Regions from separate parts of the Homo sapiens genome. Here region 2 is linked to region 1. The links are contacts of gene promoters, found by promoter capture Hi-C in human tissues and cell types (Jung and others, 2019). All regions are on one chromosome and are shown on one strand. The core of a region is centred on a gene start or on the middle of the fragment in contact, and the rest is flanking DNA. Distances in the headings are between cores, read along the strand shown.

Region 1 (7,070 bases), core at 3,386-5,885:
TATGTTGCAATTCATTTTATGGTCCAGAATATGGCCTATATTGGTGAATGTCCCGTGCATATTTGAAAATGTGTAGTCTGCTGTTCTGCTGTTATAGGATACAGTATTCCAGAAAGGTCAATTAGGTCAAGTTTGTTGATAGTATTGTTCAGGTCTTTTATATTCTTACCGATTTTCTATCTTCTTTTTCTATTTATTACTGAAAGAGAAACGTTGAAGTCTCCACATAAAATAGCGAATTTATCTATTCCTCCTTTCGATTCTATTGGTTTTTGCTTCATGTATTTTGTTGCACTGTTAGGTACACTCACATTTAGGATTGTTGTCTTTTTTGTGAGTTGATCCTTCTCTCGTTATATAATGTCCCTCTTTATCCTTTTCCTTTGTTTTGGAGTTTACGTTGTTGGATGTAGCCACTTGTGGTAAGCAGAATAATGCTCCCACTTCCCCCCCGCCGCCCCCACTTCTCCCACCCCTGCCCCGTGTTGACATCTTAATCCCCAGAACCTGTGAATATATTGGGATAAATTGCATTAGATTTCAATGGGAAATTAAGGTTACAGATAGAATTAAGTCGGCTAACCAACTGATCTTGAGATTGAAAAATTATCCTGGATTATTTGAATGGGCCCCGTGTATTTGTAAGCGTCTTTTTAAGTAAAAAAAAGAGCGAGGCAAGAAAGAGGGAGTCAGAGAAGGAGATGTGATGATAAAAGCAGAGGTTGGAGCCGGGCGCGGTGGCTGACGCCTGTAATCCCAGCACTTTGGGAGGCCAAGGCGGGCGGATCACGAGGTCAGGAGATCGAGACCATCCTGGCTAACATGGTGAAACCTTGTCTCTACTAAAAAAAAAAAAAATACAAAAAATTAGCCGGGCGTGGTGGCGGGTGCCTGTAGTCCCAGCTACTCGGGAGGCTGAAACAGGAGAATGGCATGAACCCGGGAGGTGGAGCTTGCAGTGAGCCGAGATCGCGCCACTGTACTCCAGCCTGGGCGACTGAGCAAAACTCCGTCTCAAAAAAAAAAAAAAAAAAACAGAGGTTGGAATGAGATGATAGTTGGCTTCGAAGATGGAAGAAAACCAAGGGCCAAGGAATGTGGACAGCTCTAGAAGCTGGAAAGGGCAAGGAAATTGATTCTTCCCTAGAGCCTCCATTGTTCATTTCTACTCAGGTTGGCCTGACTCCCTGCTGCTTCTAGCTTGACCTTTTCTGGGACTCTTGTTTTGGCCTTGAACCTTGTCCTGTTGAATAGCAAGATTGGAACTTACCCAGGGTTTTCTTTCAATCAGCAGAATGTGGAAAACTAAGATACATCTTTCAGATGATAGTGTACCCACCATGCTTACAAGCAATTCACAGGCCCTGCGCATAATCAAAGAAAGGGGAATACACAGAGGTGAGAATACCAGGAGGTAGGGATCATGTAAGTAACTATATTATATACTTATAGTCTGCCACCATATGTAACTTGTAGAGTTGAGAATAATAAAGTAATGATTTACTCTTATTTGAAGAATTAGAATTTAACTGATTATGAACAAATTTTGTGTTGAGATCATAGGTGTTTAGGGTGCAAGGACTATGAAGTTGTTGTTTTAATATAGTATGCAATGGTATGCTTCAAATGGAGGACCAAAATATTCAGAATAAAGCGATCTCACCTTGTTAAGGGAATGACCATGAGGATTTAACTTCAAGTTCCCAAATAAGTGGTTGCAACACACACACACATATATACACACACACACATTTATATATATAATGGAAAAACATATATATAGTTGCCCCTCCACATCCGTGGGCTCTGCATCCACAGATTCAACAATGGATGGGAGGAAGGTGGGGAGGAAGGGAAAAAGAAAGAGAACCAGGGTGCAAATCAAATAGAACAATGATAAGGCCAGGTGGCTGCCAGTTTGTGACTCTTGCTTTATGTCAACTTCTTAGTTTCTGTCTTTTCCCAGCAATTCAAGATGTGTTTAAGAACTTAATTCAAGGTGTACTTGGAAGTAGATCAAATGCAGGTAGAATTTCCATTGCCTTGCCACTTCTTTAAATCTAACCATACAGTTTTTATTGAGCACCTAACATACACACACAGTCTCTCATTACATCACACTAAAAATGAAATATATTAATAATTAGTTACATGAAACAGAGAGATACAACTTCCATAATGGTCAAAATGACTCTGAGATACATACTTACATTTTAGCTGTTTAAAAAAAAAAATCAGATATAAAGAGAATCACTGTTTACTGGAGCACTCAACATCTATAATTCCTTCTAAATGCAGAAGGTTAATGGGAAAGTTCCAGAACATTAGTCACCATTTCGTTAAAAAGTAGCACTTCTAGTGGCACACCCCTGTAGTCCTGGCTACTCCGGAGGCTGAGGCAGAGGATCACTTGAGACTGGAATGTCGAGGCCGCAGTGAGCCATAATTGCACCACTGCTCCAGTCTGGATGACACAAGACCCTGTCTCAAAAATAAAAATAAAGTAGCACTTCTAAGCCAAGTGCAGCTGTGCATGCTTGTAGTCCCAGCTACTCCTACTCCTAGCTATTCTGGAGGCTAAGATGTGAGGATCCCTTGAGGCCAGGAGTTGGAGACTGCAGTGCCTATTATTACACCTGTGACTAGCCACCGCACTCCAGCCTGGGCAAGCCAGACCCTGTCAGGGAAAAAAAAAAAAAAAGGTAGCTCTTCTAAAAGAATGGAAAGGAAATCATTCTGCAAAACTTTCCTTGGAGCCAGTTTTGACCTGTGAGGCTTCTGTCCCTATAGAGGTTATCTATGACACCCACCACGCCGCATCCAAGTTTATACCAATTCAGAAACGGAAAAAAAGTCTGCAGTCTTGTTAGCTGATTAAGTGAGAAGACATTGATTCAACCTGGCTCAGGTTGGCAATTGCTCATGGCTGCATTTAATAGAAATGTTAAACAATAAACATTGCATCCCCCTCCCCACATGGGACTCACATCACTTTAGTCACTCTATCTCCCCCTTATTCTCAGCCTCCCTCTGCATCGATTTCTCTCCCCAGTCTCCAGTTTTTGCACATTTAAAGTACGCCTATTTCTGTTTCCATTATTTTTCCTGCTCTTAATCAGGACTGAGACTTTTCAAAATTTTTAACTTCTCTGCTATCCCAGAGATTCTCCATACCCCTTACACTCTCATCCCAAGCATCTCACCCTTACCCTTGCCCCCACCCCCATTCGAGAACCTGGACTTCTCCCCAATCTCTATCACAGTACCCCCCGGTCTAAGACGCCCTTAGCTTTCCCTTCCCCACGCCTCCCCCATCAACCCTCCCTAAGCCGGCAGGCAGTCTCAGCCGTTCCAGAAATTGACAAAGAAGTTGCAGAGGGAGTGCCACTTCTCAGCGCAGTAGGTCTCCGTGAGCTCCGCGTTCCCGTCCAGCCCGTCGGGGTCGGGCCCGGTCCCCATGGGTCGCTCCTCGTTGGGGACCAAGGCCGCCTTCCTCTTGCCCTCGTTGGTCTTCCTCTCTGAGGGGTTTTCTTTGGGCGGTGCGCTTTGGGGAGGCGGGGTCCCAGCGGCTGGGCCGGACGCACGCTCCCGGGTCCGCCCCCGGTTCCGGGCCCGGGGCTTGGACTCCCCCGCGAATCCCGCGACGGTGGGGCGTGCGGGCGGGGACGCGCGGGGCACTAGCCGCAGCTCGGCGCCGTGGCCCTTCTTGCCCGCGCACAAGCGGGCCTGGAGCGGCGCGGGGTCGTGACAGGGCCTCCGCTTCTTGCGCAGCCCTCCCAGCACCTGCTTCCAGAAGTGCGCGCGGCGAGCGGCGTAGGCTGCGCAGCGCTCCGGATGCCCGCGGTAGGCGCACTGGTGGCGCGCCCCGTCCGGGCTCTGGCAGCGCAGCGCCAGCTCGCTGCCCGCTGCGGCCTCCGGGGCGGGCAGCAGGAGCTGCCAGCTGCACGCGTGCTGCTCGGGGCTGAGGAAGCGACCCGAGGAGCCGCCAGTGGGCCCGGGGACCGGCTCCGCCACGTTGCTAGCCGCCCCTTTCTCCCTCCGAGCAGCCGCGAGGAGGCAACCACTCAGCAGCAGCAGCAGCGACGGCGACAGCGACGCTCGCAGCTTCGGAGGAGTCATGCTCCGCGGTTTCCGCGCTCCGCTGTTCTCAGACCACGTTTGTCGGGGCTGGACCAGGCAAAGAGCATTCCCCAGGACCTGCGGACAGAGGCAGAGACTGCCACCAACTGAGCCACACGCAGCGCTTCGCCCAGACACATGCACCTGCGAACTACTCTTCCGCAGACTTTCTAGAATCTGCAGCCTGCGAGGAGACCCTCTGAGGAGCTTTCCTGGGGAAACTGCTTACTGTCTAAATAATCACTTTCGAACCATGTATGCATTGAGATTTTCTTCCCCTTGCAAATACGATAGCAAAACGATGCGTGATAATTGCCCCCTCTACCCCTTCCTTCATTTTCTCCCTTCTCCAACCTGCAATAAACTATCTACAAAATCATTTCAGATGATTCCTTGGAAACATGCACTTTACTACACTTTGAACTTACCGAGTTCTGGGAGAGGCGCCAAAGCCTTATTAGGGTAGAGGGAACGACTGCACGGGGGAGTAGTCTGTTTTAGCCGGCTCCCTGTGAATGAACGTGGTATCAATGGAACAGAAGAGGCCTACCCTTCTTCGCCCCTCCCCGATTTCTCTCACACTGGGAGACTTATCACCGCCGCGCTTCTCTCTCTCTCTCCCTCTCTCTCTCTGTCTCTCCAGATGGATGATGGAAGCGGTCCTGTAGTATGAAATACAAATCTTGTATTTTGCTTCCAATGTTTAAAATAATCAGGCAAAATTAACCAAGTTTTTCTTCTTTCATGTACTTAACCATCCAAAAAATAAAAATTAAACAAAAGATCTAAGTTTTAAAAGTTAAATAAAATGAAACAAAACAAACTTCAGTATTCTAAACTAGGCATTTTTTACACAATTATATCATTTACATTCTATTTCTCATATTCTGAGTTCTACATTTTTACCTATTATTTCCAATAGCCTTTCTTAAGACTCTCAATCTTAATAATTGTTACTACTAATAAAAATATAATATCCTAGTTTATTAACATACAATAGTGCCCAGCAGTTCACCCAGGAGTGGACATTTGGGCTTTTTATTATTTTTAGGTATTAGAAATCAGTTATAAGGGTCCTCCAAAAATTAGAAGTTTAAAAAAATTATTTGTATTATAGTAGTTGAACGGTAAGATTACCAATTGAAATGGTATAATAGTTAAGAATGTGAGACCAGCCTGGCCTGGTGAAATCCCGTCTCTACTAAAAATACAAAAATTAGCCAGGCGTGGTGGCAGATGCCTGTAATCCCAGCTACTCAGGAGGCTGAGGCAGGAGAATCACTTGAACCCGGGACAGGGCGAGACTGCCTCTCAAAAAAAAAAAAAAAGAGAGAGAGAATGAATGTGTTCTTGAATCTTGAAAATGTTACATTTAAGCAAAGCTGCTTTTTCTGGAGGGGGGGATTGTGTGTGTGTGCGGGGGTTTGTTTGTTTGTTTGTTTGTTTGTTTGTTTTGAGACGGGAGCTCACTCTGTCACCCAGGCTGGAGCGCAGTGGTGCTATCTCGGCTCACTGCAACCTCTGCCTTCCCGGTTCAAGCGATTCACCTGCCTCAGCCTCCCCAGTAGCTGGAATTACAGGTGCCTGCCACAACACCCAGCTAATTTTTAGTGGAGAAGGGGTTTCACCATGTTGCCCAGTCTGGTATCGAACTCCTGACCTGAGATGAGCCACCTGCCTCAGCCTCTCAAAGTGCTGACCAAGCAAAGCTGTTTTTTCTTTCTTTTTTTTTTTTTTTGCTCTTTTTAAAATTTTTATTTAGAAGCCTACTTGTAGAAGTTAGCATAATTTTACAGATTATTAGAAAAATTCAATTATTTTCTCTCTGCAAACAGTTATAATAGGTTAGGAATAATAGATTAGAAATGTACTACATTGCAAAAACAGTGGCCTATAACTATCTGTACATTTACTGTGCACCTTAAGGAAAAGAATTTGACAGTGTGCTATACTTACACTGCAGGTAACATATTTTTATTCTATCACACAAAACTGACCAGTGGTAGTGCTTGAATTTATAAATGGCCATTAAACAGAATATTTAAACTGAGATGTATATTTAGCATGCTAAAAAGTGAAAAAAATTTCAACTGAAGTTCTGTGGCTCATCAGTTCAAATGTTTCATGGCATTTTTTTCTTTAAACGAAAAATTTTGATATTGTAAAACAAATAATTTTACATAATAAATGCAAAAGTATAAAATTTTCTAAATTTTTAGAAAGAATATTTCCATTCATTTTGTCATGGGTTTTGTGTGGCTCCTCTTAATATATTAATGATATTAATAAGACACTGGTCCTATACCACTTTCAGAGTCCATCTTCAATTAAAAACTGTAACAAAAATAAACAGTATGTAGAGTAACACAAAGTAAATTAAATATACTAAACTCACACAACAGGTAGAATAAAATGAAACCAAATTACATAATGGCAGGTTATACATTTTAAAGACTCTCTTTCCACTTAGTCAAATAAGAAAGACATTGAAATGTTAACTTACTGATTTCTGTGGGGTTTTCCCCACTGGTTCAAATGCGAAAGTTTGATATAAATCTAATATTTTATTTCTGTACATTTAACATGATTCAGTATAATCTGCAGTCTCATGTATAGCTTGTCAATAATGCCATCATCACTGTATGTCAAACAAAAAACCTCACTGCTTACTAGAAATGCTAAACACTGGAAAAAATGGAATTTTATACATTTGTTTTCTTAAATTTTGACAGATGTTCTTCAAAAAATTAAAACTGCCTTCCACAAAATTTTGTGTGTATATGGCACAAGTTGACAGCCAAAAAGTGTGAATTCCATCAAAAAGGCACTGTTAACAATACTCAGAATAATCTGACAAGGTCTACATCAATGTCTGAGTAAAGAATAGGTAAATAGACAAACCCTTATAAAAGACAGCATTATTGTTTAAATATACTATAGCTATATAAAAA
Region 2 (7,630 bases), core at 1,039-3,538, 420 kb before region 1:
ATCTGTCTTAACTCCAAAGCCCATGCTCTTTTCACTGTATAGCCGCAGTGTAAATGAAAGTCTCTGTTAATTAAATAACAAATAGGTTATTGTTATTTTATAATCTCAAATTTTGTTTCCTGAATTTACCACGTACTTATTAAGCTTAGTGTCTTTCCTTTTACGTGTTAACAGAATTTTAACACAATTATCTTTAATATCTTTTTCAGAATCCTCAGTTTAATAACACATCTACGTATGTCATCTATGCTCACTTGCTACGACAGATAGCTACCTTAGTGGAAGCTGACCATCATTTCCTAGTTCACTGGTTTAAAAAGTAAATCATTCTATGATATTAAGAACTTTTATAGTCTCACAGTTTTAAGTTTGGTATTAGTAATTTTACAATAAAATATATTTAAATATTTTCAGGTCTTTAGAAATGATGCTTATATTCACAATGCTTCAAAAGCCAGTTACAAAAATCTACTTTAGTACTACATAAAGGATAATTAAAAATCTGTTTTTAATGTAAGTAACCAATTTGTTTGCACAAGCTGTTGAGAATTTCTGTCTACTGCCTTCACTTTTTATATAGCACATTCCTATTATTGGTTTTTTACGTATCTCAAAGATGGTGACTGGATTTGCTCAGACACTACTATTTTAATGTGTGTCTTTTTATTTTCTATCTGTAAATTCATAAATTTCACCATTATTTAAATGGCGCTTTCTCCTTACCTAAAAATGTCATTGTAAAATATAGGCTAGCCATCAATATCAATTTGTAAAAGCATAATACTTTTTTCACAGAACTATACCCACATGAACAATGACTTCTCCATGACTGATAAAAGTAGAAAGGCAAAATATTTCCAAAAGAAATTTTAAATGCAGTAAATTATCATTATTCATAGTAGTTATATTCTATAATGTCACCACAAACATGGAATTAATAAATACAGAACCATTGCTTCAAGGGGAAATACAGGGTTAGGTTCCTGTGAGCCTCTGATCACATTTTTGTCAGCCAATCAGTATATAACTTTGCTTTATGAGTGTTTTTTTTAAAGACACACTTCATTTAATAGAAGTCATTGATTCATTATCATTGAACTCACGGCTAGCAGCACTGTAACTCATGCCTGAATGAAGCTTCTCTAACATACATATTTTCTCTGTAGGGCACATCACAACCTTCTTGTTAGGAACACTAGACAGCATTTTAGCACTACACTTGGCCATTTTGAAATTGCAAAATCACCAACAAAAAGCACCAAAATGTGAAAAACATGAAGCTAAATGGATTGCATAAAGGACACTTGCAAAGAGAGAGTATTGAGCTAAAACAAGGCAGAACATCACTTTGACCTCAGCTGGAAATGTGCATGTCAGGAGACTAACATCTTTCACATGTCCCCAAATGACCATGAAAACACAAGTATTGATTTGGGGATTAACAATTAAATTTTACCAAGTAGGCAAATTTGGAAATATAGAATCTGTGAATAATGAAGACTGAATATTGAAAGTCTTTAAAATGTTTGTTACTAACTTTATAGTAATTTTGGTGTTTATTTCTCATTTAACGAAGACAGTATTCAAGGTAAGATTTTGTATCTTTTCAAATGTTTGGCAATTTAAGAAATAGAATTTGGGGGAATAGTCTAAAATTTTGTGGCTTAGGATGTAGTTTAATATCTAACAGATAATTTTGGAAATAGAAAATGTGAATTTTGATTGCAATTATTTTGAAATCTTTACCAGATTGTCCCAGAAGAGGTTCAAACAATTGGTAGAGAGATTGCTGCAATTTATTTCTTTACGCCTGTTTCCTGCAAAGCCTGAAGAATTTCCACCTATAACAAAGTGTTCCTGGTGGATTCCATCAGCCGCTAAAGTGTTGGCTTTACTTAGTAGGTTTTTATTATTCTATCATTTTTTACTTTTCTTTTGTTACATTTTAGGGATATTTCTTAAGGATTTCAAAAGACTATAGAGGCATTCTTAAATTTTAAACCATTTCTGTGAAGGAAAGAGTTGTAATTTATTTTCTACTTTGATAATAGATTTCATAATTTATAAGCATGAAAAAAGCTTTATGTCTTTTAGTGGACAGTGTTCTGTATTATGGCAATTAAGTGCATATGAGCTAGGACCCCTAAGAGAGAACACACAGAAATAGGAGTAAATGGCCATCTGCATATTCCCTTTAATACTATTATAATCCTCACCACAAGTTTTCTTTTTTAAGCAAGAAACTATTGGCTGCATTTTAACCACAATTTTTAAATTACCCCTTTCATTTGGAGCTACATTTATTTAAAATAGGAGTTTCTAGGTCAAGGCTGTCTTGTAGACATTAAAATGATGTTTTTATTATTAGAATGAATCTTGTACATGTTGGAAAAAGTCTTTATGTTAGAATTTATCTTTACAGATACTGCAAACAATTTAGTTCACCCTCCCCTTATTCCTTATACTGATTTCTATAATTCTACATTGGATCACATTGATCTCATGGAAGAATATCATACTTGGCAAAACTTTGGAAACTCTCACAGGTATGAACAAAAGTTCCTTTGATTATCCACCTAAATGAAATACTATTCAAAAGAATGACTAGAGTTTAAGTTTATATGAAGTTTACACATACGTTTACATATAAATGTATAAATATAGTTCAGATAGCCTTGAAATATCATATTTATTAAAGTATTTTCTTTTTCTGCTACATTTTGAATTTATGTACATGTTAATTTGGTTTTGGTTTGGTTAATAGCATCTTTTCAAGAAGGGAGAGGTTCTATCTTAATATGCAGTCTCTTATCTCTTACTATTCTATGCACAGGGGTCAGCAAAACTTTTTCTGTAAAGAACTAGATGGTGAATATTTTCAACACTATAGGTTACACAGGTTCTATTTTGCTATTTTAGCACAAAAGTAGCCTTAGACAGGATGTAAATGAATAGATATGTCTGTGTCCCAAATGACTTTATTTACAAAAACAGGTTGTAGGCCATATTTGTCTTAGGCCCATGGTTTGCAGATGCATGATCTAATATATTGATCACACACAGACACACACATACATTCATTTCTCATTTCTTTTGTAAGAAAAAGTGGTTGTCCATTAGGTGCAATATAAAAAGAGTAGATGTTACAGAGAAAGGGCCTTACCACAGCTTATTTATTATAATAATTAATAGATTTGTAAAACAGTCACCAAATTATTTAATACACTGCACTTTATATCCACACTTCTAGTTTGGATTAAACTAGCAAGACTATTCCAAACATAATTTATCCTCAGGTCATGAGATGTTCAGGAGATTGCATTTAATTGTAGAGGAATCTGAGTAAAGAGATACAGTGTGGATATAAGTAACCTCAAAACCCCAGATTAGTTTGTAAATTGGTTAAACTTTCCAGGGACCCTCTTTATCAGAATTGGCCTGAAACATAGAATGGGCTTCTGGACACATCTCATTTCACATCTGAACACTCAGAACTGAATAAGAATAAGAATTTAAGTTCTGGGCACCCTAGTCCCAGATGGATATTTTCTTGGCAATGTTTACTTTACAAAGATACTTTTTCCTTCCATTTTAATATAATTGTAATGTGTTGTAGATACAACCACAAAACAGCGCCAAGAATTATTATGCATATTTCACTGACAACAACATCTTTTAATATAGAGCTTCCTCTAACAACTGTGCCACAACACTGGTGTACCAAGAATGAGTTACATTAGGGTTTTAATCCTAGGATCCTGTCAACCCTTGGGTAGCCAGCCTGAACCTAGAGGGGAACAGGAGCCCTATGGCAAGTGATCTCTGGCCATGAGCAGCTTCATCTGTTCATTTCAGTGTATCATTCACAAAGTATCATTTCTCTTGTGCATAACAAGGGAAAGGTTGAGAACCCCTGTCCTAAAGTACATAGTAAAACTAATATATATCTTACTGAGTTCATTGCATTTTCTTTTTATTTCCAATTTTTTGTTAGCATTAATGATTCAAAATAATTATATACCAGTACTGAAGAACTCTCAACTTTTATTAACAATTTTGTCCCATGGTAAAAGCCATCTCACTTTCAGTTTACACTAAGGCTATATCCATTTTCCTAATAATGCCTTTTTTCTCAGTGGTCACAGTTGTACCACCTGACTATGCTCAGAGGGATTCCAGCTGTAACTGATAGATTCACTGTAGTCACTTTGAATGGCAATCTAACTCCAGAAGTGTCATTGCTGCCATATTCATTCTTTCTAAATGCATTTATCTCTGTGTAGTTTGTGGCTTTTGTGCATAGCATAGAATGTTCTAGCCCAGGAGGGGTTATTTTCATAACCTTTTTATAATGTGTAATTACAAATACATACCATTTCCTATTACCACACCATTAAATATAATACTAAATGTAACATACATTTCTGATTTATTTTTATTGGTCTTAAATATATTACTTTACTTTTTACATACTGTAGTTATTGTTAGATTTTTTCATTTCTGGAACTCACACATCAGAAGTCACCATATAATGATGGATTCTTATATTAATTTTGAGCACCTGGGTTTTCTGTACTACTTAACCAACACTTCTCCCTCCTGGTTCTGGTATTGGCCATGTTGTTCACAGGTGATGATATACAATGAAATTATTTGTATAGACAATGTAAGTGGTTAGCACACATTCAGAACCTTTGATGTAGCTTCTGCAGAGAATAAAGGCATTGCACATCTAGTAATGATACATTCTTCACATGGCTGTGAGAATTAAAAGAAATTATACACATACAATCATTTTGTATATGGTAAAACACAATCCAAAAGTAATGTTTTATATTGCTACAAGGGGTACCTTAGATTCCCTTAGTATAATTTTGTTAAAAATACACCATTTTGCTTTTTCTTTTTTTCACTTGTTGAGCAGGTTTTCCTTCTGTCAGTACCCATTCGTTATTTCTGTAGCTGCAAAAAAAATCATTATTCAGAGAGACTCAGAGCAACAGATGATAAACATCGCAAGGGTAAGTCAGCTATAAAAACATATTTATGCTGACTATAATCAGTATAGTAAATAATTTAATAAATAATTTAAATGTCTTGTGAATTGTTCTAGCATAATCAGGAATGTTAAAAGCAAAATTCGTGTTATACTCACCCAAAAAGTGCTTAAAAACTATTTACAATTTGGGAGACAAGATAACTCTCATCTCTTCTGATCAACTTCTCATTATATTATAAATATAGTAGGAAGAGTAAATGCTTCTCACAGATTCAAATTACTGAGAGCTTGTTGGACCTCGTTTTGCAGATACCATACCACCAACCTTAGATAACCAGCAGAGCATTGAGAACTGCGGTGAGGCAGAGTGTCATTAGGCAAACCACTCAAACTACTGAAACATTTTCTAGGTTTTATGAAAATCAGAAACAACCGAAAAATTAGAAAATGTAACAAAAAGTGTGTCTTGGAGAACTGAGAAATATGCCCAAAGAAGGTGAAAGATGTTTTATTGGTTCTTAGGAAACCAAAATGCATGGAGACCCAAAGAGGCTGGGGATAGCAAGCAGACTGAGTTTAGGCAAATTGTAGAGCAGTATGAAGTTATCTCTCAGTCTGTCCTTACCACTTCCTATCCCTTGTGTTTCAGCTCAGCACAGTAATGTACTTTATCTAATAAATATCAGATTCAGTGAGGTTTTTCTGTTAGAGCTCTAAACTATTTGTTTAAGTGCTTATGTATTTCAAACATCTGCTTGTGTTACATGATTGCTCACAATTTTAAAAGAGGGAAGCTTGGCTGTGGTCTTCTTAATTGAAAAAGGAATATAGAGTAAAAAGAAATGATTTCCATCTTGTTCAAGAGTATAAAAAGAATCCTAAAGCATAAATTGTAATACTTCAAAATGCTATAAAAAATAAGAATGTTTATTCTTCAGTAATTCAGTTCCCAGAAGGTGAGTATTTCTTTCTATCACAGAGAAGGACAAAAGATTTGAGTAACTGGTGACATCCCAAAGTCATCTTATACTGAATATGGGAATATTAGAAGAAATTTTATTGCCTATGCCCATCAAGGGAATTCCAAAGCCACACTACCCCCCTGAAGAATGAGTTTAAACAGGTATATTCAGCACCAGAATTGTTACTTGATCTTGGGTAGATATTGGCTCAATGATTAGCTGTATAGCTACTCATTCTGACATTTTCTGTTAGTTGTACTCGTACAATGTCATGTGCCTTTTTAGTATTTTTTCACCTTGGTCTATGATTTTTTTATATTTGTAAGAAAATCTACAGTGCTTTTGTACGTAACAGAATGAGCTAGTTTGTGTTAAACTAGCAAGACTAAACAGTTTTTTCTGTGTCACTCACAGGATATCAAATATCTTTTTGTGGAATTTTTCTTCTACTTTAAAGAAGGAGAATGGCAGGTGTAGACTCTGTGACAGGCTAAGTTTTCTACAGAGCATGCAAACGAATGAGTAGACACTTGACATTGAGAGCTAAGTGGCATTATCAGTTTTTTATGGGTGTTTCCCAACATTTTATCTCATAAATTGCCATATCACTTGGAATTAATGACTGATGACTATTTTGACACAAGGACAATCTTACAAATAGTCAGTGTAAGCAAGAGCTTATATGGTACAATCTAAATATACAAAATTGGTTTCCTAACCTAAAATAAGTTCCTCAGTCACAGTGTCAAGAATTGTATCATTGTTGGGTTATTTTTTCATTTGGAGCATTTTCCAGTAAATATGAATTCCTGATGGGAGGAGTAGCTACTAATCTTGTTTGCCATTAGCATCCTAGCATAAATTTGTTTATTAGTTATTTCCAATGTGACAGCTGCCCAAGAGCTAGACTGGGAACAGAAGATAGGAAAAGGTAGGAAAAAACGGTCTGTAACACAGGACACTATGCTAGGAATGCAGACTTCCTTGATAAGTGAGGACACAGAAATAAAAGGCTGTTAATAGCATTTAGCGTTGTATATAGGAGAAATGGAGAAAGCTCCAAATTAGTGTTTTATTATAGTAATCTTCAAAATTGTAAGTAGCCTTAAATTGTAGATTTGTGATACTAAAATTTTATCTATTAAAGCAAATTGCTGCATGTATTTAAAATGTCTGAAATGTTTATCTTTAATCTGCACAATAGTTTTCATTGTTACCAAAAAAAGATATAGTCTAATAAAGACTATTTAGATAAATATATAAGCCTGTGGATTTTATATGACAAATGACATATTCCTTATAGATATTTTTAAATATATTGTTTTTTACCTATTCAGTGCTTATATTTTGAAAAACGGTGACAAAAGAATTTTGAGTCACTCATATCTCTATCCCCCAAGCAAAGCCATTAACATTTTAGTAAATTTTCTTTTGATATTTGTTCTATATTATCTTTAAAAGACAACAGAGTTGAAATAGTACTGTAAACACAATTTTATTTCCTACTTTCTTCAGTGTACCTTCCTTGTACTATTTACATAGTTTTTATGACCATCCTTTTTTTCATTAGTTGTATATGTACTTAAGATATTTCTAAAGTTTTGTTTTTATAGATAATGCTGTGATAAACATTGTACTGTATAAAATATGTTCTAAGAATTCTCAGTGG

What was found. Contacts are between HindIII fragments. The study calls those that stand out against the background at their distance.
Region 2: a contact is called between a fragment that was not itself captured here and the fragment with the promoter of FGFBP3 in region 1, in 1 of the 25 tissues and cell types used here (dorsolateral prefrontal cortex).

What each region holds. Positions count from the first base shown.
Region 1 is chr10:91,904,851-91,911,920 of GRCh38, forward strand. FGFBP3 (fibroblast growth factor binding protein 3) reads right to left here and starts at 4,636. Exons shown (of 2, transcript NM_152429.5): 1 at 4,548-4,636; 2 at 1,734-4,197. The coding sequence starts at 4,119. The coding sequence ends at 3,343. It overlaps FGFBP3-AS1 (FGFBP3 antisense RNA 1), which reads left to right and starts at 3,279. Exons shown (of 2, transcript NR_199602.1): 1 at 3,279-3,399; 2 at 4,047-4,498. RefSeq lists a silencer at 3,509-4,078 and an enhancer at 3,982-4,276. The HindIII fragment of the contact is 15,807 bases long and covers 1-7,070 here.
Region 2 is chr10:91,482,758-91,490,387 of GRCh38, forward strand. HECTD2 (HECT domain E3 ubiquitin protein ligase 2) reads left to right here. Exons shown (of 21, transcript NM_182765.6): 8 at 210-319; 9 at 1,750-1,898; 10 at 2,423-2,546; 11 at 4,925-5,021. All of the region lies in intron 3 of HECTD2-AS1 (HECTD2 antisense RNA 1), which reads right to left. Among named protein-coding and RNA genes, the nearest start is that of HECTD2, 76 kb to the left of the region's middle. The HindIII fragment of the contact is 3,296 bases long and covers 641-3,936 here.